2 separate regions of the Homo sapiens genome follow, and region 2 is linked to region 1. The links are contacts of gene promoters, found by promoter capture Hi-C in blood cells and fetal thymus (Javierre and others, 2016). All regions are on one chromosome and are shown on one strand. Each heading gives the region's core, a stretch centred on a gene start or on the middle of the fragment in contact. The rest is flanking DNA. Distances are from core to core; before and after follow the strand shown. Region 1 holds the start of ZNF200 (zinc finger protein 200). Region 2 overlaps ZSCAN32 (zinc finger and SCAN domain containing 32).

The links. The method cuts DNA at HindIII sites, captures the fragments that hold promoters and counts their contacts. A CHiCAGO score of 5 or more calls a contact.
Region 2: a contact is called between a fragment that was not itself captured here and the fragment with the promoter of ZNF200 in region 1, in 1 of 17 cell types (naive CD4 T cells). The highest score is 5.5, in naive CD4 T cells.

What each region holds. Positions count from the first base shown.
Region 1 is chr16:3,233,241-3,237,863 of GRCh38, reverse strand. ZNF200 (zinc finger protein 200) reads left to right here and starts at 2,706. Exons shown (of 5, transcript NM_198088.3): 1 at 2,706-2,877; 2 at 4,028-4,358. The coding sequence starts at 4,109. RefSeq lists enhancers at 2,388-2,597, 2,608-2,667. The HindIII fragment of the contact is 8,399 bases long and covers 1-4,623 here.
Region 2 is chr16:3,378,108-3,382,730 of GRCh38, reverse strand. ZSCAN32 (zinc finger and SCAN domain containing 32) reads left to right here. Exons shown (of 7, transcript NM_001284527.2): 7 at 1-646. The region is part of intron 1 of LOC105371059 (a long non-coding RNA gene); the gene reads right to left. Among named protein-coding and RNA genes, the nearest start is that of ZSCAN32, 21 kb to the left of the region's middle. The HindIII fragment of the contact is 3,418 bases long and covers 1-2,959 here.

The DNA.
Region 1 (4,623 bases), core at 1,457-3,956:
CTGACCTCAGATGATCTGCCCACCTCAGCCTCCAAAAGTGCTGGGATGAGCCACCATGCCCGGCCTATTGTTCTATTTTTTTTTAAGGTTTTATTATTTTTAGTTACCAAATTGACGTGCTCATTAAATGAAGTGACACAATAAAAAAAAAGTGTAATCTCTCCCTTTTCTCCATTTCCATTCCCTCCCTCTGAGTAACCATTTTATTTTTATTTTACGTATTTATTTAGAGACAGAGTCTTACTACTCTGTCGCCCAGGCTGGTGTGCCTGTCACTCAGGCTGGAGTGCAGTGGTGCGATCTTGGCTCACTGTAACGTCCACCTCCACCTCCTGGGTTCAAGCAATTCTTGTGCTTCAGCCTCCTCCCAAGTAGATGAGATTACAGGCACCCGCCACCACGCCCGGCTAATTTTTGTATTTTTAGTACAGATGGGGTTTCCCCATGTTGGCCAGGCTGGTCTTGAACTCCTAACCTCCAGTGATCAGCCCACCTCTGGCTTCCCAAAGTGCTGGGATTACAGGCATGAGCCACTGCGCCTGGCCATCCCATGAGTAACCATTTTAATAATCTATTGTGTATCCCTCAACACAAACATACACAAGGTGTTTTGTTTGTTCCAAAAATATAATTATGCATAATATATGTAGCTCTGAAACTTTTTCATGTAATATTTTATGGCCATCCCTCCAGGTGTACATATAGTTCCAATCCATTCTTTTTCATAGCTGGGTAATTTCCAGAGTATGAATGCACCAATTTACTCCTTTCCTTACGTATGAACATGCATGTCATTTCTAGTTTTTGTCACTACAAAGAATTCTACAAGAAATTTGTAGACATCAGATTCACAGATGAGATTGTGAAGGTCAAAGGGTACATACTTGTACTTTTAATTTTAATATATATTACAAGATGACTTCACACACCACACTACCAGCGAAAGGAGTGCCTATTTCTCCACCTTCATTGTTTGATAGGTGAAAAATGTGGTTCCCTTTAAAAGTGATAATCTTGACTAGTAGTGTGGTTAAGCATCTTTTTAAATGTTAATGACCAATTAGTTTTCCTCCTCTCGGGAAGAGCTCCTCATTGCCTTTGCTTTTTGTCAGTTGGCAGGGGTTCATTTTGTCTTAGGAATGTATAATCTTTTGTGTAGCTAATCTTTACAATTATCTTCCAGTCTATTTCTTGTTTGTTAACAGAGTCAAGAAAAAGTTCTTAAAAAATACAATCACACAGGTTTATATTTTACTTCAAGACATCTCAGTTATCTGTTTTGCCTCATAATTCAAACCATAATGCTTTGATTAACGGAGGCTTTTTAGTAAATTTTGATCTGAAAAGGCAGATATTCCTTATTTTTCTAGAATGTCTTGGTGCCACACAGTTTTCATACTCGTTTCTTTGTAACATATTTTAAGCCATCGTCAGCCATTAGTCAGGTATAATTAACTTTAAGAAGAGGCATTCATTTATATTTTTACTTTTGTCAACTTTCTGGAGGCTGGTATTACATCGAGAAATAAGGCCATCCCTGCCCACAAGTTGTCCGAACCCTGATCAGTGCGTCACTGGGGAACGAACCGAGTGTGGATACAACGCACAAACACAAAACTCTGTTCGGCCTCCGTAGGAAGCTGAAATTGAGAAAGGAAACCGAGACAGTAGGAGAAGGGCAATTAAGATGTCTTTAAAAACAAGACGGCCGGTGCGGACAGCAGTGTAGAAGTTAGCAAGCTGGAGTGGGCAATGTCGGTGCCCCATCTCTAACCTATGGGAGTCACCAGAGCGGGGGCGGAGTCCCATGGCGGCCACACCCTGTCCGCCTCCGCAGTCTTTTTACTGGAGAACCGCAGTAAAAGGCGGAAACCGCGGAGGCGTCTTGATTTTCCGGTCGGAGAGATAGCTTGCTTCCTTTAAGCCTCGGGGTAGGGGGGTGGGGAGGGTAGGGGGGTGGGGAGGGTAGGGGGGTGGGGAGGGTAGGGGGGTGGGGGGGTGGGGAGGGTAGGGGGTGGGGGGGTGGGGAGAGTAGGGGGGTGGGGAGAGTAGGGGGGTGGGGAGAGTAGGGGGTGGGGGGGTGGGGAGAGTAGGGGGGTGGGGAGAGTAGGGGGTGGGGAGAGTAGGGGGGTGGGGAGAGTAGGGGGGTGGGGAGAGTAGGGGGGTGGGGGTTGGGGGGTGGCGCCGTGGGGGGTGGCGGGGTGGGGGGTGGGGGGTGGGGAGAGTAGGGGGGTGGGGGGTGGGGAGAGTAGGGCGGTGGGGGAGTGGCGGGGTAGGGGGGTGGCGGGGTGGGGGGTGGGGGGAGCGCGGGCGCTGGGTGGGCGGGGGGTGGGGCGGTGGGGGGGCCTGCCCCGCCCCAACCGCCGCGCCTGACGGTCGTCCATTGGTTGTTTGCATTCGAACTACATTTCCCAGCAGGCCCTGGGGTTAGACTGGCCGCAGCTGGAGAGGTGCCAGCCCGTCGTGGATGACTAGAGCCAACCACCTGCCTTCCGTCTTCCAGGCAGAACCACAGAGAGGCTACAGCCGTCCTGGCCTCCCTCCGGCCCTGAGAGCTCCTCTGGCCTGTCTCAAGTCTTAACGTCTCAAGCGCAGACTGCCGGCTCCGAACGGGGAGACCAGGCTTCTGCACCGGAAACAAGGCACCGGTTGTGACGTCACAGCCGCAGAGCGCCCGACTTCCCAGAAGGCACCGAGTCCCTGCCGTTCTCCTCAACTGGCGGCGGCGCGAACGAATAGTCGCCGGCGACCTGTGAGGGCACTCGGAAGGGCGAGGGGAGGGCTCGACCGCTCGCGCCTAGTTTTTCTATCTCTCCCGGAGCCTGAGTCTCTGAGCCGTCCCCAGCAAACGCTCAGGGGCTGCAGAGGCCCCGAGAGGTGAGGGGCTCCGTGAGGGCGGGAACCAGGCTGAGGCCGCCTCTGGGGAGCGGAGCGTGTCCGTTGCTGAGGGAGCAAGGCCGGGTAGGGAGCCTGGTGAGCGCCTCAGGCAGGGGCGCACGCTGAGCTTTACGGTAAAGGTGTTCCTTGACCAGCGGAAGAGGCCCCAGAGTGAGCCTGGCCCGGCGGTCCTTAGTGGGATGTCGCCTGCCGCTCTCAGCAGAGCTTTGACGGCGGAGAGGAGTCGGCAGGCGGTGTGTGGACACCTCCTCGGCCTTGCATCTGCTCCCCGGGAGAGTCACCAACCGCCTCCCCGCCCAAAGGGCACCGGAGGGAGCTTCGGTTCGAGGGGTACAGTATGGCCAGATTCAGTGACCAACCTGCTTTTAGGCAGATGTCCTCGGTATTGACCCCAGATTTCCTGTCTTCTAGCCCATTGCTCTTTCTCCAAGCCTGATTTAACCTATTCCTGGTGGGTTTTACACACCGTCTTTCTTTCTGTCTTTTCTTTCTTTTTCCTTTTATTTTCTTTCTCTTCCCTGATTCCCTTCCTCCTTCTTTCCTTTCTCTTTTCCTTTCTTTTTTTAGAGTCAGGGTCTTGCTTTGTCGCTCAGACTGCAGTGCAGTGGCGCGATCACAGTTCACTGCAGCCTCGACCTCCTGGGCACAAGCAATCCTCCCAGCTCCCCAGTAGCTGGGACCACAGGCTTGTGTCGCCACGCCCAGCTAATTTTTTTTTTTTTTATGGAGTCGGTGTCTTGCTGTGTTGCCCAGGCTGGTCTTGAACTCCTGGACTCAAGCGATCCACCCGCCAGGGCCTTCCAAAGTGCTGGGATTACAGGTGTGAGCCACCGGTACCTGGCCACACTTTGTATTTCTCAGGAGGCTGGACCTTGGCCTTCTCCGCTCCACCCTTACTCCCTTCCCTTTGGACTTGAGGTTTGCACAGTCTCTGTTTTTCATTCTCAGGATCTTCCTTTCACATCTTCCTAAGCATATCTTGTTCAAATACTGCGTTTCAGTTATGATTTCCCTATCCCAGCTGTCGTTTTCTTTAGATCTCATGTAGCCTCACCAGCCATGCCACATATTGGAGTGCAGTAATGCCGTGCCTGGTCTTTTGGGTAATCCCTGGTTTCTCTGTCTACAGCTTGGCTCTCTGGCAGATTTCCTCTAGTAAGAGGTGGCTCTGGAGGCCCCGCGAAACGAGTGTGGTGTGTGGTTGCAAGGCATGATGGCTGCAAAAGTGGTTCCTATGCCCCCAAAGCCAAAGCAGTCCTTTATACTGAGAGTTCCGCCAGACTCCAAGCTGGGCCAAGACCTACTTCGAGATGCCACTAACGGGCCCAAGACCATCCACCAGCTAGTGCTGGAGCACTTCCTCACCTTCTTGCCCAAGCCAAGCCTGGTCCAGCCCAGTCAGAAAGTCAAGGAGACCTTGGTTATTATGAAAGATGTGAGCTCAAGCCTTCAGAACAGAGGTGAGAAGCACATGCTTGTTTCACTAGAAGAGGAGGAGGAGGTACTGGAGTCTAAGATAGGTTTCTGTGTTAGTTATAAATTCAAGTTAGGATGGTGTATATTGGAAAAGGAGTCAATTCTAGTGTTGGAAAGAGGAAGTTCTTCTCAAGTGCTGGGTGTGAGTAAGGCCACAGAATAAACAGTGTGCATCTTTCTGTAGTGTCAGTTTTACCCAAACATTCTGAGGGAAATATCTTTTAAGGATAAATCAGATGAATTATTGAG
Region 2 (4,623 bases), core at 1-2,500, 150 kb before region 1:
ACCCATGTCTAGGACCAGGAGTCAGCATAAGGACGCTGACCTCTCCTGGCTGTGCCTGTGACTCCAGAGTCCTATCTTACTGTGACTTAAAGTTTGATGGAGAGAAAGCTGTAGGATCCATAAATTCTACCAGGAAACCAGGGTCTTCCTGTTCCTAGCACTGAGAATGGGCACCCAGTGGTCCAAGAACACTTTCTGGGCTAACATAGTCCTCACACAGGGCTGAGAAAGAAAGTGTCTCCTTTCCTGGAAAGCACATGTAAAAGTTAAGGGCCTGAATCTCTTCTAAACCAATAATTGACCTCTAGGCACCCACCGTAATACTGCTACCTTCAGGGCAGAAGACACTGCTCTTTGTAACCCAGCCACCACCAAAAAGCAAACAGAAAGAAGGAAGGATGGTTAAGCCATTGGATAATACTGAATCTGTTTCCCTAAGTGACTTAACCTTAGAGCAAGCACAACATCCAGGTTAATTTTTTGTAAGATTTCTCCTTTTATTATTGCCCTCATCATAGTTCCTGATTGTCTCTTAAAGTAAGTGGTTTATAGACATTACTATTTCTGATAATAATTTACAAACTACTATAAACAAATTTATAAACATTACTAATTTCTGATGAAAATAAAGTTGTTTCTCCCTCCACTTCCTTGGCCTTTGGTTGTAATTTTCTCCATCAGAAACTATACTCGTGCAGAAGCCTGCAGGGTCCTGAAAATGATGTATGTAAGTGTAGAGCCTGCTTCAGGGCAGTAGGACATGCAGAGAAGGAATAGGGGTAGGAAATGGGGAAGAGGGAATTAATTGGATTGGGAAGGGTTTGTGCCATCATGAGAGGGAAGATCACAGAAACAAGGGAAAAACAAGGTTCATCAAGAGATTCTGACTCCTGAAGAGTTTAGTAGATGAGAATGGTAGGTGAAAGGAAGGATGGATATGAGAAACACTAGGAACTAAACTTAAAATTCATCTGTGATGAGTCACAGATAGTTAAACTTTTATGAAATTGCCATGGATAAAAAGTGGTAGAAGATAGGTACATTTGTCTATGGTTGTTGGCTGGTGCACACAAGGTAGTAGGACGTTTTCTAAGGTATGGTGCAAAACAAGCATCATGGTCTCTTGAGCTTTTTGAAAAGTTAAGCATTTGCCCCAAGAATACTTGCCAGCAGCACTGGCAGCTGCAGTGTTTACCCTGAGATAACTTTGCTACAAAATAGCTTGCTTTTATTATTTTTTGAGACAGGGTCTCTCTCTGTCGCCCAGACTGGAGTGCAGTGGTGCGATCTCAGGTCACTGCAACCTCTGCATTCCAGGTTAAAGCAATTCTCGTGCCTCAGCCTCCCAAGTAGCTGTGACTACAGGCCTGCACCACCATGCCCAACTAACAGGGTTTTGCCATGTTGACCAGGCTGGTCTTGAACTGGCCTCAAGTGATCCTCCTGCCTCAGCATCCCAAAGTGTTGGGATTACAGGTGTGAGCCACTGCTCCTGGCCATCTCTCTTTTATTATTTTCGCATTGCTCTAGTATATCAACTTTGGAAACAAAAGACATCATTCTATTTACAGCATTTAGTAGTGGTATTTCCTTTTACAAAATACAGTAATTCTCAATCGCTGAAAATGTCAAATCCTAGAAAACATAGCATTCTTACATATGATAACATCATTCTCTAACAGTTGTAAGCCAAAGATCTATTTGATGAATCTGATTTTTCTGAAAGACAATTCTGATGATTCAGGCAATTCTAATGTTATTTCTGTTTAGAAATAACTCCAAGAACAGTTTTTATATTTTATTTTCACATTGAAAATCAGTCACATTTGCTTCACCCTCAGAGAGCATGTTTATATGAAATTAAATGAGTGCTGGCAGCGAGCTTCACTTTTTTTCTAAGTGAGAAAAGTTAAATATGAGCAAAGGAGAATGTGCTTTCTACCTCAAATCCAGAAGAAAAAGAATTTAAGGGGACGAAGGAGAAGCAAAGGCAGAAGAGGAGAATATACTTTTGTTTCTTTATTGAGCTCTGCCTGGGCCACTGCTTCTCTCTGCATTTGCTGTCCTCGACCATGCCCCTAAGGAGAAGCTCTGCAGGACAGCTCCGAAAGTCACATATTTCACAGCCTCTGCTCAACTCAGAAAAAAACATCTTCAAAGGGCCTCGACAAAGAGGTGGGCTGGAATGTGACCTATTTGGGACACCATGACTTCATTGGTGATTCATGGTGGAGAAGAGGAGACAGGAGTGGACTAGTTACTGATGGGCTTTGGATTATCAGCTCAGAGAAGGTGGCTGGATAAATGAGGAGAGCCAGTGCAAGTCAACGGAAGAGATAAGGAAAGTGAGACACTTCGGGGCCTCACTAGTAGGCTCCTCCCATTCCTGGGCCTACCGTGGCCAGGTAAATGGGGGTACAACTGTTGAACTCCTTGCATGTTTAGGTTGCCTCTGCCCTCCAGGCTGCTTTGTCCTCTAGTCTGCTGGGCAGAAAAATGAAAACAAGTACCGTTAGAGTCTCCAATCCATGCCTGTCAGCCACTCTAGATGACCTGAAGTAGACAGGTAAGGGTTGGGAGAATCCATTCATTTATTCCGGAAACATGTGATTGCCTATAATATATGAGGTACTGGAGCCAAATATAAAGCAGTGAACAGGGCCAGGGGTGGTGGCTCACACCTGTCATCCCAGCACTTTGGGAGGCTGAGGTGGGCCGATCGCTTGAGCTCAGAAGTTTGAGACCAGCCTGGGCAACATGGCAAAGCCCCATCTCTACAAAAAAATATAAAAAATTAGCCTGGAGTGGTGGTACGTGCTTGCAGCTATTCGAAAGGCTGAGGTGGGAGGATGGCTTGAGCCCAGGAGGCAGAGGTTACAGTAAGCCAAGATCACACCACTGCACTCCAGCGTGCAAGATTCCCCATGTTAAGCGGAAAAAAAAAGCAGTGAACAAAGCTTCTTCCAGAAGCAGCCTCATTGGACTCTTCAGAGGTATCAGCACCAGTCAGGCAACACTGCCCAGCTCCCAGCTCCCAACCCCCAGCACCCTCGCCAAATCCAAGTCCCAGCTCTGCGGGGCCTCTCTTCCAAGCTTCCAAGGTCTGGTAAACCCAACCCTTTCTCTATCCAGACCCCATGTGTGGTAGCTGTTTCCTACAGTTACTATCTCTGTCACTGCAGTTTTCCCTTTACACTTTTTTTTTCAATTCTACCACACCCACTTTACAAATTCTTTACATTAAGTCCCCTCTTTGAAACATCAAGAATGGTTTCTGTTTTCCTGACTGGACTTTATTATCACATGTGATGCTAAGAGTTTGGATTTTATGATAAGTATAATGGGAAGCCACTGAATAATTAGGCAGGGAAAGACACAATTCTCTTATTCTGGCTGCTGTGTGGAGAATAGGTCAGAAGAGCTAAAAGTGGTAGCAAGGGGCAGGGCGCGGTGGCTCACGCCTGTAATCCCAGCACTTGGGGAGGCTGAGGCGGGCGGATCATGAGGTCAGGAGATCGATACCACCCTGGCTAACAGGGTGAAACCTGTCTCTACTAAAAATACAAAAAGTTAGCTGGGCATGGTGGTGGGTGCCTGTAGTCCCAGCTACTCGGGAGGCTGAGGCAGGAGAATGGCGTGAACCCGGGAGGCAGAGCTTGCGGTGAGCCGAGATCAGGTCACTATACTCCAGCCTGGGCAAAAGAGTGAGACTCCATCTCAAAAAAAAAAAAAAAAAAAGTGCTAGCAAAGAGACCAGGTAAGACTTTCTTAGCTGTGAGGTCTAGAAACTCAGTTGTCTAGTCTAGTGATGGCAGTGGATACAGAAAAAAGTGGATGGGTTTTGTACATTTTGGGCGCATAGTCAACATAATGTAGCGGTGATAGATTAGTTATGGAGGTGAAGGAGAGAGTTCTCATCTATGTCTATTACTAGGGATTTCCTATTATTATCTGGGTCAATGGGTGAAACTCAAATAAGTGGAGGTCAGAGAGGGAAAAGTAACTCACAGAAAGAAAGGAGAGATACAACCCCACATGGAAAGCAGGCCCTCTAAGTGGTATCTTTGAGAGGGAGAGTAGATTATCATCTCTCTTCTAGAAATGGAAATACTTCTTAGAGGGAGGAAGGATGGGCACACAACAGTCTTTGGCTCAATCCACAGTAAAGACAGAATTATAATCCAGGTTTCCCAGGGTGCAGAGGGCTCTCTTCTTACTAAGTCTTTTATGTAACTCTTCTAGGAGGGAATGTTTACTACCACTTAGCTTTTGGGCTGGGTCTTGGGGGCTAGGAGTCCAGCCAGGTTGGCTCCTCAATGTCCTCTGGTCCATTTCTTCATGGAGGGGACAGGGCTTTGGCACATGGCTGCTGCTCTCCTTGTGACGTTCATCTGGAGACACTTCAACTTGCTGTGACACAGCTCTGGATGTGCAAATAACCCAGCTCCTCAGGCTGCACAGCTATTGTTTTGGGCACCTTGCATTATCAGTACCAGGTTAGGTATTTTCACTAAACTGCTGTTTATCAAGGATGGTGAGGAAGGTCTTTGTTTCTTCAGCACCCTAGTGCATACCTTCCACCAGGAGGGTACACTCAGAATGACAGTTCAGGGCTGTTTCTCT